2 separate regions of the Homo sapiens genome follow, and region 1 is linked to region 2. The links are contacts of gene promoters, found by promoter capture Hi-C in human tissues and cell types (Jung and others, 2019). All regions are on one chromosome and are shown on one strand. Each heading gives the region's core, a stretch centred on a gene start or on the middle of the fragment in contact. The rest is flanking DNA. Distances are from core to core; before and after follow the strand shown.

Region 1 (5,197 bases), core at 1,827-4,326, 1.1 Mb before region 2:
CAGAATGATACTCTGAACAACATGAAAACTAATTGCTACCCAACAAAAAGATAAAGGATTGACCCAAATTTTCCTATCCCCCCCTTATTTCCAAATATTCTAAAGGTCCTCTCTGGTTCTCCCAGCCTACCATGATTAGTCCAAGCCCCTTTGCCTGCAATAATCACATGCTAGTTGTAAAAACATTAAAAAATGCTGATACTGTGACTGGTGAACAAAATCATCATTATTTGATGATGCCCAAATCTGTCTCAAACCACATTTTCTGCCATGGTGGTAAACATCTGACCTCTATTAGCATGTATTTTAAAAAGTTTTTTTTTGTTGTTTTTTTTGTTTTGTTTTTTTTTTGAGATGGAGTCTCACCCTGTCACCCAGGCTGGAGTGCAGTGGCGCATCTCAGCTCACCGCAAGCTCCGCCTCCCAGGTTCACGCCATTTTCCTGCCTCAGCCTCCCGAGTAGCTGGGACTACAGGAGCCCTCCACTGCGCCCGGCTAATTTTTTGTATTTTTACTAGAGACGGGGTTTCACCGTGTTAGCCAGGATGTTCGTGATCTCCTGACCTCGTGATCTGCCTGCCTCAGCCTCACAAAGTGCTAGGATTACAGGCATGAGCCACTGTGCCTGGCCTTAAAGAAGATAATTTTTAAGGGTGCAGTAAATATATGCTGAAAAGCTTGAAATCAACAACTGTGTTAGTCTCAAACAGCCTTCAGCTCCACAAGCACATTAGCAAACCAAAAAAACAGGGTTAGTGTAATATGTTTTAATACTTTTTGAAGAATGCAACAATCCCATAGGCCATTACTGACTAGAAATGGTGACATTTCACAAGTGTCCCAAACTTGGGATTTATTGAGCTTCTCCATAGTAGAGTGTCTTTTCAAACTTGCTTCTATTAGTTTTCATCATCGCTGTTTTCTTTATTATGGTTGTTTCCAACAGTTTAAATAGAAAAATGCTACACATATTTCAAAGTGAGGAGCCTTGTATAGACCGGCATATAAGCACAGGAAGTAGCATTTAAGCTACACAAATGTTTCCCAGCCCTTGCCACTGAATAGGCCCATTGTTCTCCATCCAAGCTGTACGTCATGATCATGTGTGGGGTTTAAAAAATATAGATTTCTAGGCCCTGCCTTGGAGATTCTCAGTTGTTCTGAGGTGGGGTTGGGGGATGGTCCAAACTTCTATAGTCAAAAAAAGTGCCACAGATGTTTCTGCTGCACAGTGATCGCTGAGGTCTTGGATTTAGTAAAGCAATACCAAGAATCTTAATTTCTTGTCTGTTATAAAATTTTTAAAAGGCAGTACCTACAAGTTAAACTTGGGTGAAAGTGCCAGTTCCACTGCTTACTGTGCAAACTTGGGCAAATCTCTTACTGTTTCTGAGCATCATGGTTTTCATCTGAAAAATGGGGAATCATAGTTTCCTAATGAAATGTGGTGAAGATTAAACGAGATAATGTATGTTACCTCATGTTCCCCAGTGCCTTAGTAAGCACATAATATGTAATAGTTATGATTTTATTCCCCTTTGTGTATGTCATCTGGAGAAATTTATACCTGAGAGATTGAATATGAGAGATTATTCTACCTACCTATGCCCAGGGGGACAAGGGGATCTATGAGAAACTAAAAATTGTAAAACCTGGCTGTTGACATCTAAACATTTGGAAATCAATGGCTAGTCATCTTTCCTACAGAAGGAAATGGAAAAATGAAACCACCCTTCTTCATTATGAAGGAAGATGCCTAAGAAGAATGGTTCTCTGAAAAACAAGATGTAACAATGGCTGCTGGTCATTGACCAACTTCAGCAGGAGAGATTGCTGATCTCTTGTTACTCTCAACTCCCACTGTGGGGGATGAGGCAGGTCTCTTCCCTATTCTCTTTTTCTACCATGGTTATTCCTGCTGCTTTGCCTTGGTTTTTCTGCTCTTCCCGTATCACTTAGATCCTATATATTCTTGTCTCTTTTGATCAGCCCAGCTTTCAGTGAAGCTTTTCTTGCCCCCATTTCTTGAACTTCTGTTGTCTTAACTAGTACCTTGAACTGTATTCATTTTATTATTTTGTTGTTGTTAGTCCTGTCTTTCCAAATGGACTTCAAATTTTCTGAGGGAAAAGATATTTTGCTAACTTTCATGTACATCTTCTTTCTTAGCCCAGCACACACAGCCATAGATGTAAAAGATTGCCTCATAAAAGCAAATCAGGTGCTGAAGAGAGTCATCTGTATGTGAAGCAGAGAGTCAATGAGGCCATCTTTAGTGGTTGGTGTGCTAGTGACTTAAGGTTCAATTTTAGCAGCTGTTCTTCACTTTCCAACAGGGATATATAAAACACACAGATTGTTATAACTCTCCTTTGACTTTCCTTGTTGATAAATTTAGATATAATATTTTCCTATTTTAAGTAGTGGTTCTCAACATTGTTTACACGTTAGAATCATCTGGAAAGCTTTAGAAAACCCTCATGTTCAGACTACACCACAGACCAATTAAATCAGAATTTCTAGGAGTGAAGCCAAGGCATCAGAATTTTTAAAAGCTTCCTAGGAGATTCCAATGTACAGCCAAGATTGAGAACCACTGTTTTAGATTAAACTATGTAAAATCTGATTAAGAGACCCCTAGATTGGAAACTGACAATAAACAAACATCCAGGTCTGGGATTTCTTAATGGGCTCCACTGGTGCTGTGGACTTCCTTCTCATTCTGACTGTTCTTTTCCTAAGCTGCCTTAAGGCACATTGTTCAGTGGATCCGAGACTCCGATTTGAGAACAAGCATAAGCAAGAAGTGAAACTCTTGCAGCAGGGTACGTGTACCTGCTGTTAATCTTGGATTGCTCATAGTCCTAAACGATGCCCATTATTCAAATCTCAAATTGAATGTTATTTCTTGATGGAGTCTTCTCTGACAACTCTCATATCCATTAATAGTTGAACACTAGTCATACTTTCTCAAACACTCTATTGTTTCCCTTTATAGCACTCATGATATACAGAAATTTTAATGGTTATTTGCTTAATATGTAATACACCACCTCCCCCTCCTCCTACCGCTGGGTTTTGAGCTCATGGATGGAAGAGACCATCTCTGCCTTATTCATTATTGTAAATTTGGCAGCCATCACAATGCATGTGGTAAGAGCTGAGTAAATAGTTGGTGAAGGAATAGAAATCAGAGTACTATTGTTAGATGAGTGTTTATTGACGGGGGAGAATGGTAGAGTCCGGTGCCTCTCTGTGGAGCATTCTATCAATTGTGAGATAGTGCAGAGTGGGGGCAATCTCAATTACCTAATTTTGACCAGTGATTCTCAAATATGGCCTGCTCAGGAGAATCACCGGGATGTTTTGTTGAAAGTACAGATGCCTATGCCTCATCTCCAAAAGATCTGATTTCAGTAGTGTGATGTCAGAGCTAGGAATAAGTTTGCCAGCTAAGTCTGATGCCCTCGGCCACAGTCCAGCATTTAGAAACTACTGCTTTAGCCATTGCCTGAAATGACTTTCAGAACCACTGTCAAATTTGGAGCCTGCATTTTCTGTAGCTCAGTTATTCTTTTGCTCTGTGATGAAATTATGAAGGTGAGGTTAAGGGTTTTCTTTGGAAGAGAGACACATTGCTTTATGCAACAACTCTGGAGGGATAATGCCCCCAGTGCCATCTACTCTGTTTATAATGTGGCTGGCTGAACTTATGGTTTCTTAGGAATCCATGTTCTAAAGCCTGATGGTAATATTAGAACTATGTCAATGTAACACTTTCCCCAAATGCTTGGAAAACTTAACCACGTAGGCCACGGTGTGTGGCTATACTGATCTCAGTGGCTGTACTCACACTGAAAAAAATATGTCAGCATTGGCCATATTTTTATATACCTAGATCTATTTTGAGAAACAGTCAACATGGGAAATATTACATTAAATATTCATGGCATTTGTGTTCATGCTGAAAAAAGTTACACAGATTATAAAACTTCAGTGACTCAGAAATCTCCCATCTATCAAACTCAACTAGCCAAAAAGAGCAAAGAAGGAAAAAATAAGCAAAAGAGAACTCCAGATATCAAAAATATGTGGAATTTTAAATAAAACCTATATGAACAAAAGTAAGACTTTTTTCTTTTTTTTAAAGTAGAATCCATTTACTCAGGATCTATTTGCTGTAACTTTAGACATAATCTAACTGCTTTGGGGAATCATGATGCAGGTACAGTAAACACAAGAATACCAAAATCATAGCCATGTAACACTTCTTGGGCTGAAACAGTCATTTGTTTCAGTGTCTACACTTTAATATTTAATAATTGATAATATTTACATGTGTTATATAATTTAATATTTATCATCAACAAAGAGAACTCCAGGGAAGATAATATTCCCATTCTACAGATGAGGAAACTGTGTGGCAGAGAGGTTAAAAAACTCAATGAAGTCATTCTGATTTCTAATTCAATAAACTTTCTGCTGTATTATGTTGCCTGATGGAGTTTCACTGTTTGTTGCCCAGGCTGGAGTGCAATGGTGCCATCCTGGCTCACTGCAACCTCTGCTTCCCAGGTTCAAGCAATTCTCCTGCCTCAGCCTCCCAAGTAGCTGGGACTACAGCTGTGCACCACCATGCCCAGCTAATTTTTTTTTTTTTAATTTTTAGTAGAGACAGGGTTTCACCATGTTGGCCAGGCTGGTCTCAAACTCCTGACCTCGGGTGATCCACCCGCCTTGGCCTCCCAAAGTGCTGGGATTACAGGAGGGAGCCACCTCACCTGGCCTTCCATTGCCTTGTAAAATAAAGAACAACTTTTGATAACCATGAAGAGAATCTAGAATCATCAAGAAAAGGTTGAAGTTTAGCATACTTAGTTTAAAAGTGTAGAATCATCTATGGTATTTTACAAATGTTTCCATTAACAATAGTTAAAATTAAATAACAATGTGTGAGTGCCTGAAGGAGTAAGTTTCTGTCATATGGAAAAATCACTTATGTGAAATCTTTACTTTGTAGGAATTCAGATGAAAAAGAAATACAAACATACTCACACATTTTTAAAACTGGACTTCTTGCCACTATGAGTCACCACCATTTTTTATGTGAATGTGGTGTGGCATGGGTTATTTATTATTTACATGGTTCACAAACCATTCTTCCGTGCTCAAAAATGGCCCAGGAAAGGAAGGGAAG
Region 2 (5,382 bases), core at 1,761-4,260:
CCAGCTACTCAAGAGGCTGAGGCAGGAGAATCGCTTGAACCCGGGAGGCGGAGGTTGCAGTGAGCCGAGATCGCGCCATTGCACTCCAGCCTGGGCGACAAAGCGAGACTCCGTCTCAAAAAAAAAGAAAAAAAAAGAAAAGAAAAGAAAAAAAGAAAAAGAAGATAAAGAAAGAAAAGAAAATATAGAAATCATCAATCTGTCTGAGTTGTTTTTACTCACACTGCAAGGGAAGGAATATTTTTCTAAAAATGCGACTTAAGTTTTTCTAAATGAAAGCTATAGAGATGCTAACTCACTTTACAGTATCACTATAAAAACAGAAAAAGAAACAGAAGGTAGCAATGTTGAATGTTTAAACCCTGCAAGGCAGAGGTTCCGCATGAAGTTGATCTTTACAAAAAAAGGTTTATCAAGGACACTGAGGAATTTCTTTTAAAAAGAAACGTAACTGGCACTTATTGAACAAGACATTTAAAACAACAATAATCCTATTGGCGACGATAAACTTAAATTCTTAAATTGAATTTAAGAATAATTAGAAGAGTAAAAACTGAGTACAAATTTCTCAGCCAGCGGCGCTGCACCGGGAACTTGGACCCACCAACATCAACAGCTTTGCAAAGTCGAAAACGCTCCGCAGCGTTTTTGTTTTTTTCCCCTCCCCACCCCGCCGCACTCTCAAACCTCCCGGTCCCGGCTAAACTGAATTCGCGTAACTGTCGATTGAAATAAAATTCTGGAGACCAACTTTTTCTTTTCTCTTTCATCTTCTTTTCTTTTTTACTCACCTTCTCTTAAATGTCGACGAGCAACTCAGCAACAAATAAGGATACTTTTAATCTTGGAGTTCTTCTAGGAAAAAAAAGAGGACGTGGAGGAAGTACCCTCCCCCCAACCTTCAGATTTCCTACCCGTCGGCTCTAGCAGGCTTGAAGCCCGGCAAAAAAGAGTGGCTGAAAACCTGGGCTACACTCTCCTCCCTGAAGCTCCGTGAGTCTGGCCGTCCCTGCTCGGGCCATTGGGCAGAAACCTCGCGGCCCGCAGCCCCTCTCCCTGGCGTCGCGCTATCCGCGCCTCTGCCAGCCCCTTCGCACTATCTTTCTTTATATGTGAGGGCCGATTTCCCGCAGACATCATTGTTATGATGGCTCATTTAATCAAACTGTTTAATTGCTCTGGTAATCACTATCATCATCACAGGTGCTCAATCATTCATCATTTTTGGAGGGCTTTATTGACCTCCGGAGTTCATTCCTCAGCCCTATTAAAACGAGGCCAAATTTCTCCGACTCCGCTTGGAGTCTCTGCAGGCTGCAATCTTAGCCTAGTTTCTGTTGCTCGAAAGCTTACAGTGAAGCAGGGAACATGGAACGGGGGCCAAAAAAAAGAGCCCTCCCACCCGCCCTCCTCCCCGCTCTCTCTCGCTCTCTCTCTCTCTCTCTCACACACAACACACACACAGAGTACTTTATTCTCTCTAATCAACCTCCCCCATCCCACCCTCCCTCCGCGGGAAAGTCGGTTAGACGCGGCTCGCGGAAGACACTACTCTCCACTTCTCAGAATGGGTTCAAAGTTGGGGAGGGATGCGGCTGTTGGAGAACAACAGTCCGCTTTCCACTCTCTGGGCCAGGGACTGGGAGGGCGAGAGCGAGAAGTTGGGGAGAGGACGCGCTTCCAGCGCCTGTCCGCCCGGCCGCGCCACAAGGGGCCGAGGGGCATGGGGGCTGCTGGGCGGCAAGGCTTGCGCGGGGTGACCGTGGCTCCGCCCCCAACTCCGGGCTCGTAGTGATTGACGCGCGGCCGCCGGGAAACCAGCCGCGCAGAGGTGAAGCCTGGTGCAGCTCGGGCCAGGGAGGACAGGGCACCGGCCACAACTAGTTTCCACCCAAACGGTGTGGGGTAGTTCCCTTCGTTTCCTTTTCCTTTTTGGAAAAGTTCTTTCGGAGCTGGCCCCATCTCCCTGACCCCGCGAAATCGCCCCTGTGTAATTAACACAGCCATTAGCAGGCGTTACCGCGGCCCGCCGCTGCGCCTCGGGCGACCACAACAAAGCTGGGCTGTGAGCGCCGGCCACTCCTCCTCGCCCGGCAACTTCTTTCTCCCCCACTCTCTCCGTCTTTTCCTCCTGTGCTTCCCAGCTCTGAGTGAGATCCACTTTGGAGACGCACACTAGTCGCGCGCGCGCACGGGCGCGCGGGCGCGCGCGCGCACACACACACACACACACACACACACACACACACACACACGCCTTTGGCTACATCGGACCCAGATGACTGCCTCCTCACTTCCTCCCTCCCGATTCCGCCGCGGCCCCCAAAGACTCTCGGGGTGGCCCCTTGTCCGCACCGCTTGGAGGGAGTGTGCTCTGAGTTAAGCTGGTCTCTTCTGGTCCTGGAAAAAAATGAGTATTGACAAGGTTGCTGGATCTGCGCAGAAAAGAAAGTGCCACTTAATAAAAAATTTAGCCCGGCAGTGGTACCGTCTGCAGAGCTTGCTGCCCTTGGACGTTAGCAGGAAGCCTTCGGGGTGCTGTAATCGGCGGGCAGAGGAGAGGGAGGCCGCGGAATTAAAAGGAACAAAAGCTAGAGCGCCATGCCAAACGTCCCCGGCAAGACCCAGTTAGGCAGGAGCCGGGAGTGATGGGAAAATGAACTAGAAGTAAGTTTTTTTTTTTTTTTAAATGAAAAGATCTGAGGCGGTACCGTACTTTCCCTGTGGTTTTCTGCAGTTTTCCTCTCTGCGCTCTCCCTGTCCTCTTCTCTCTCCCCCTCTCCCTCTCTCCCTGTTCGCGCGCGCGCGCGCGCAACACACACGCGCGCACGCACACACATACACACACACTCACACACACAGACACACTCTCCTTTTCCTCCCCCCCGCCGTCCCCCATCCCCGTGGAGGAGCAGGCTTGCTGATTTGCTCGGGTCCGCCCGGCTCGAGCCTCCCCTCCCCCTCCCGCCCCCCCGCCTCCCCCACCCCCCCAGCCGGGGCTGTCCGATCGCACTCGTTGCATATCAGAGGCTCGGCGCGGCGCGCTCCTCCTCGCTCCCGCTCCCCACTCCCGGGATGTGTCTCCGCCGTACGACGGGCTATGGCCACCACGACTTCCGGGTTCCGTCATTTCGTTCTCCCGCCGCCGACCCGCGCCGCCAAACTGAGGCTCTTCAATAAGCCAGGCAGCAGCCAACCTGCCAACACCTACTGACACTCACTCATCTCCCAGAGAGAGAAAGAGAGCGAGAGAGAGCGAGCGCGAGAGAGCGAGCGCGAGTGAGAGCGAGCGAGCGAGCGAGAAAGAGAGAGAGGGAGAGACAAAATACCTACCAGGAAAGGGGGGGAGGAAGTCCAATTTTTGCAAACTATTCATTTTTTTTTCTTGATTTTTCTCACTGCTTTCTTTGAACAATACTTTAAAGAGAGAGGATCGTATTATAGATACCGCGGGGGCAAAGCTAAAAAAGGGGGGAGGGGGGAGGAAAAAATTCAAGAAGCAGAAACCCCTCGCGGAGTTTTACTGGAAGAAAAAAACGGGTCTGAAAGATTCCTCCTCTTCATCATCATCAACCATCATTCATTCACTACCTTGACATTCCGGGCTTTGATTGACAGCTGGAGTGGCAAAAAGCCATGAAACACGACAGTTCGGTTACATGTGGGCTGCTGACGGGCCGCTCGTAACCTTCAGTTCGGGGGCTTGACAATTTTTTTCTTCTTTTTCTTCTTTTTCTTTTCTTTCTTTTTTTTTCCAACTGAGGGGAAGAGAAGAGAAAGAGGGGGAAAGGAGGACCGAAGAGGAGGAGGAGGGGAGGGGGGAGGAGGAGGAGGTGGAGGAGGAGGAGGAAGATCAGGAGGAGGAGGAAGAAGAGGAAAAAAGAGAAAAAGAAGAAATATCACAGAAAAAAAAATTCTTCGTTGTCTAGACTGGGCTTTTTTTCCCCCCTAAAAAATAGCATATTGGAGAATTGGGAGAAGTCTCTTTGGTTTGGAAAAAAAAAAAAGGAATCTTCAGCCTAGATCACTTTCTTATCCGGACTGGGATATTAAATATACGACACATCCAGGAGTTTATTGGAGCGCAGACTGATGGCGCAAAGGGTAGGTTTAAATCTCCAACACTTACCTAGATATAAATCCTCTCCTAAGAGGGGCCTGTCCCGATGCCTCCTCTCCCTTCAACGCTTCTGCTGCTGCTCGCTGCTTGATGATGGCGGCCAGTATTTTAAAAAATAGCAAAATTATTCATCGGCTTCTTTCCCTCCCGTGCCTCTGCGTGTGTGCGAGTGTGTGTGCGTGCGTGTGTGCGTGTCTGGGCGCGCGTGTTCCAGCGCTGTGCGAGCGGGCGGGCGGCGAGTGCGTGTGAGTGGTGTGTGTGTGTGCGTGTGCAATCGTTACACGCTTTCGCCTCGCTCCAGCTTTTACCCCAGCAGCGCGATTCCCCCGGTTCTCCTGCTGCCGCTGCTGCGCCGCTGCCGCCGTGGCTCGCGCGGCTCGGGGCGGGCACGGGCTGCGTAGGAGCCGCCGCCGGGGCCGCCGCTGGGGCCGCGCTGCCGCAGCCGCTGCGCCGCCGCCTAGACTACTAGCCTGGGCTGCTTGTTTTGTCTCTGAAATTGACAAGGACGCAGGGAATCCGCTGCTAAATAATGTTTCTGGTAACTTTCACGTTATTCGCCCCCCCACCCTCCGCTCCCTGCCCCCGGGGAGGCACTGGCCCTAGTCTTTCCTAGTCCTCGGCGTTCTCGTGCTGATTATTAGCGTTTTTCTTCTCTTTATTTTGTTTCATTTCGCCTTTTGATTTATTGGATCCTCAGAGGAGGCGAAGGGGGGTTAGGGGTGGGATCCGGGGCTTCCTCCTCACACTAACTCCACTTCTCCCTCCGTTGGCTCGCTACGGTTCTGTTGCCTCCGGCGGGAGCGGGGCCTCCCGGCGCCCCCTCAAATCCCCGGCCTCGCCGCCTCCTCTTCCTTCTCTAAACGTTGCTCTTGGTTCATGCTTTTTCATTTTTAAATTTAATAACATTTTTTCCTCACAACTTTTAACTCCGTTGTTTTGGCTGGTTTGGTTTCTGTGTGCTCAACTTGTGCTCGGTACTTTTCTCCTTTCTGACTTTGTTTTTATTTTTATTTTCTCTCTCTCTCTCTCTCTCTCTCTCTCTCTCTCTCTCTCTCTCTCCCCCTCTCCTCCTTTTCCTCCTCCTCCTCTCTTCTCTCTTACCTCCCTCCCTCTCTCTCATCTTTATCCCTTCCTCTCTTTTCTGTTCGCCCTCTTCTCCCTGCTCTTTTTCCCTTTCCACCCCCCTCCTCTGTTCTCCCTCACCTCCTGCGCCCCCTCCCCCTTCCCGGGTTCTGACAGTACGATGAGCTGCCCCATTACGG

What was found. The method cuts DNA at HindIII sites, captures the fragments that hold promoters and counts their contacts. A contact is called where the count stands out against the background at its distance.
Region 1: a contact is called between a fragment that was not itself captured here and the fragment with the promoter of MEIS2 in region 2, in 1 of the 25 tissues and cell types used here (dorsolateral prefrontal cortex).

Annotation. Positions count from the first base shown.
Region 1 is chr15:38,193,632-38,198,828 of GRCh38, reverse strand. No RefSeq gene overlaps it. Among named protein-coding and RNA genes, the nearest start is that of SPRED1, 57 kb to the left of the region's middle. The HindIII fragment of the contact is 3,468 bases long and covers 1,343-4,810 here.
Region 2 is chr15:37,098,177-37,103,558 of GRCh38, reverse strand. MEIS2 (Meis homeobox 2) reads left to right here and starts at 3,010. Exons shown (of 12, transcript NM_170675.5): 1 at 3,010-4,104; 2 at 5,360-5,382. The coding sequence starts at 4,093. LOC124903465 (a long non-coding RNA gene) reads right to left here and starts at 4,311. Exons shown (of 2, transcript XR_007064581.1): 1 at 4,130-4,311; 2 at 1-3,758. RefSeq lists silencers at 1,640-1,779, 4,229-4,288, 4,439-4,638 and enhancers at 2,480-2,759, 3,010-3,169. The HindIII fragment of the contact is 11,980 bases long and covers 1-5,382 here.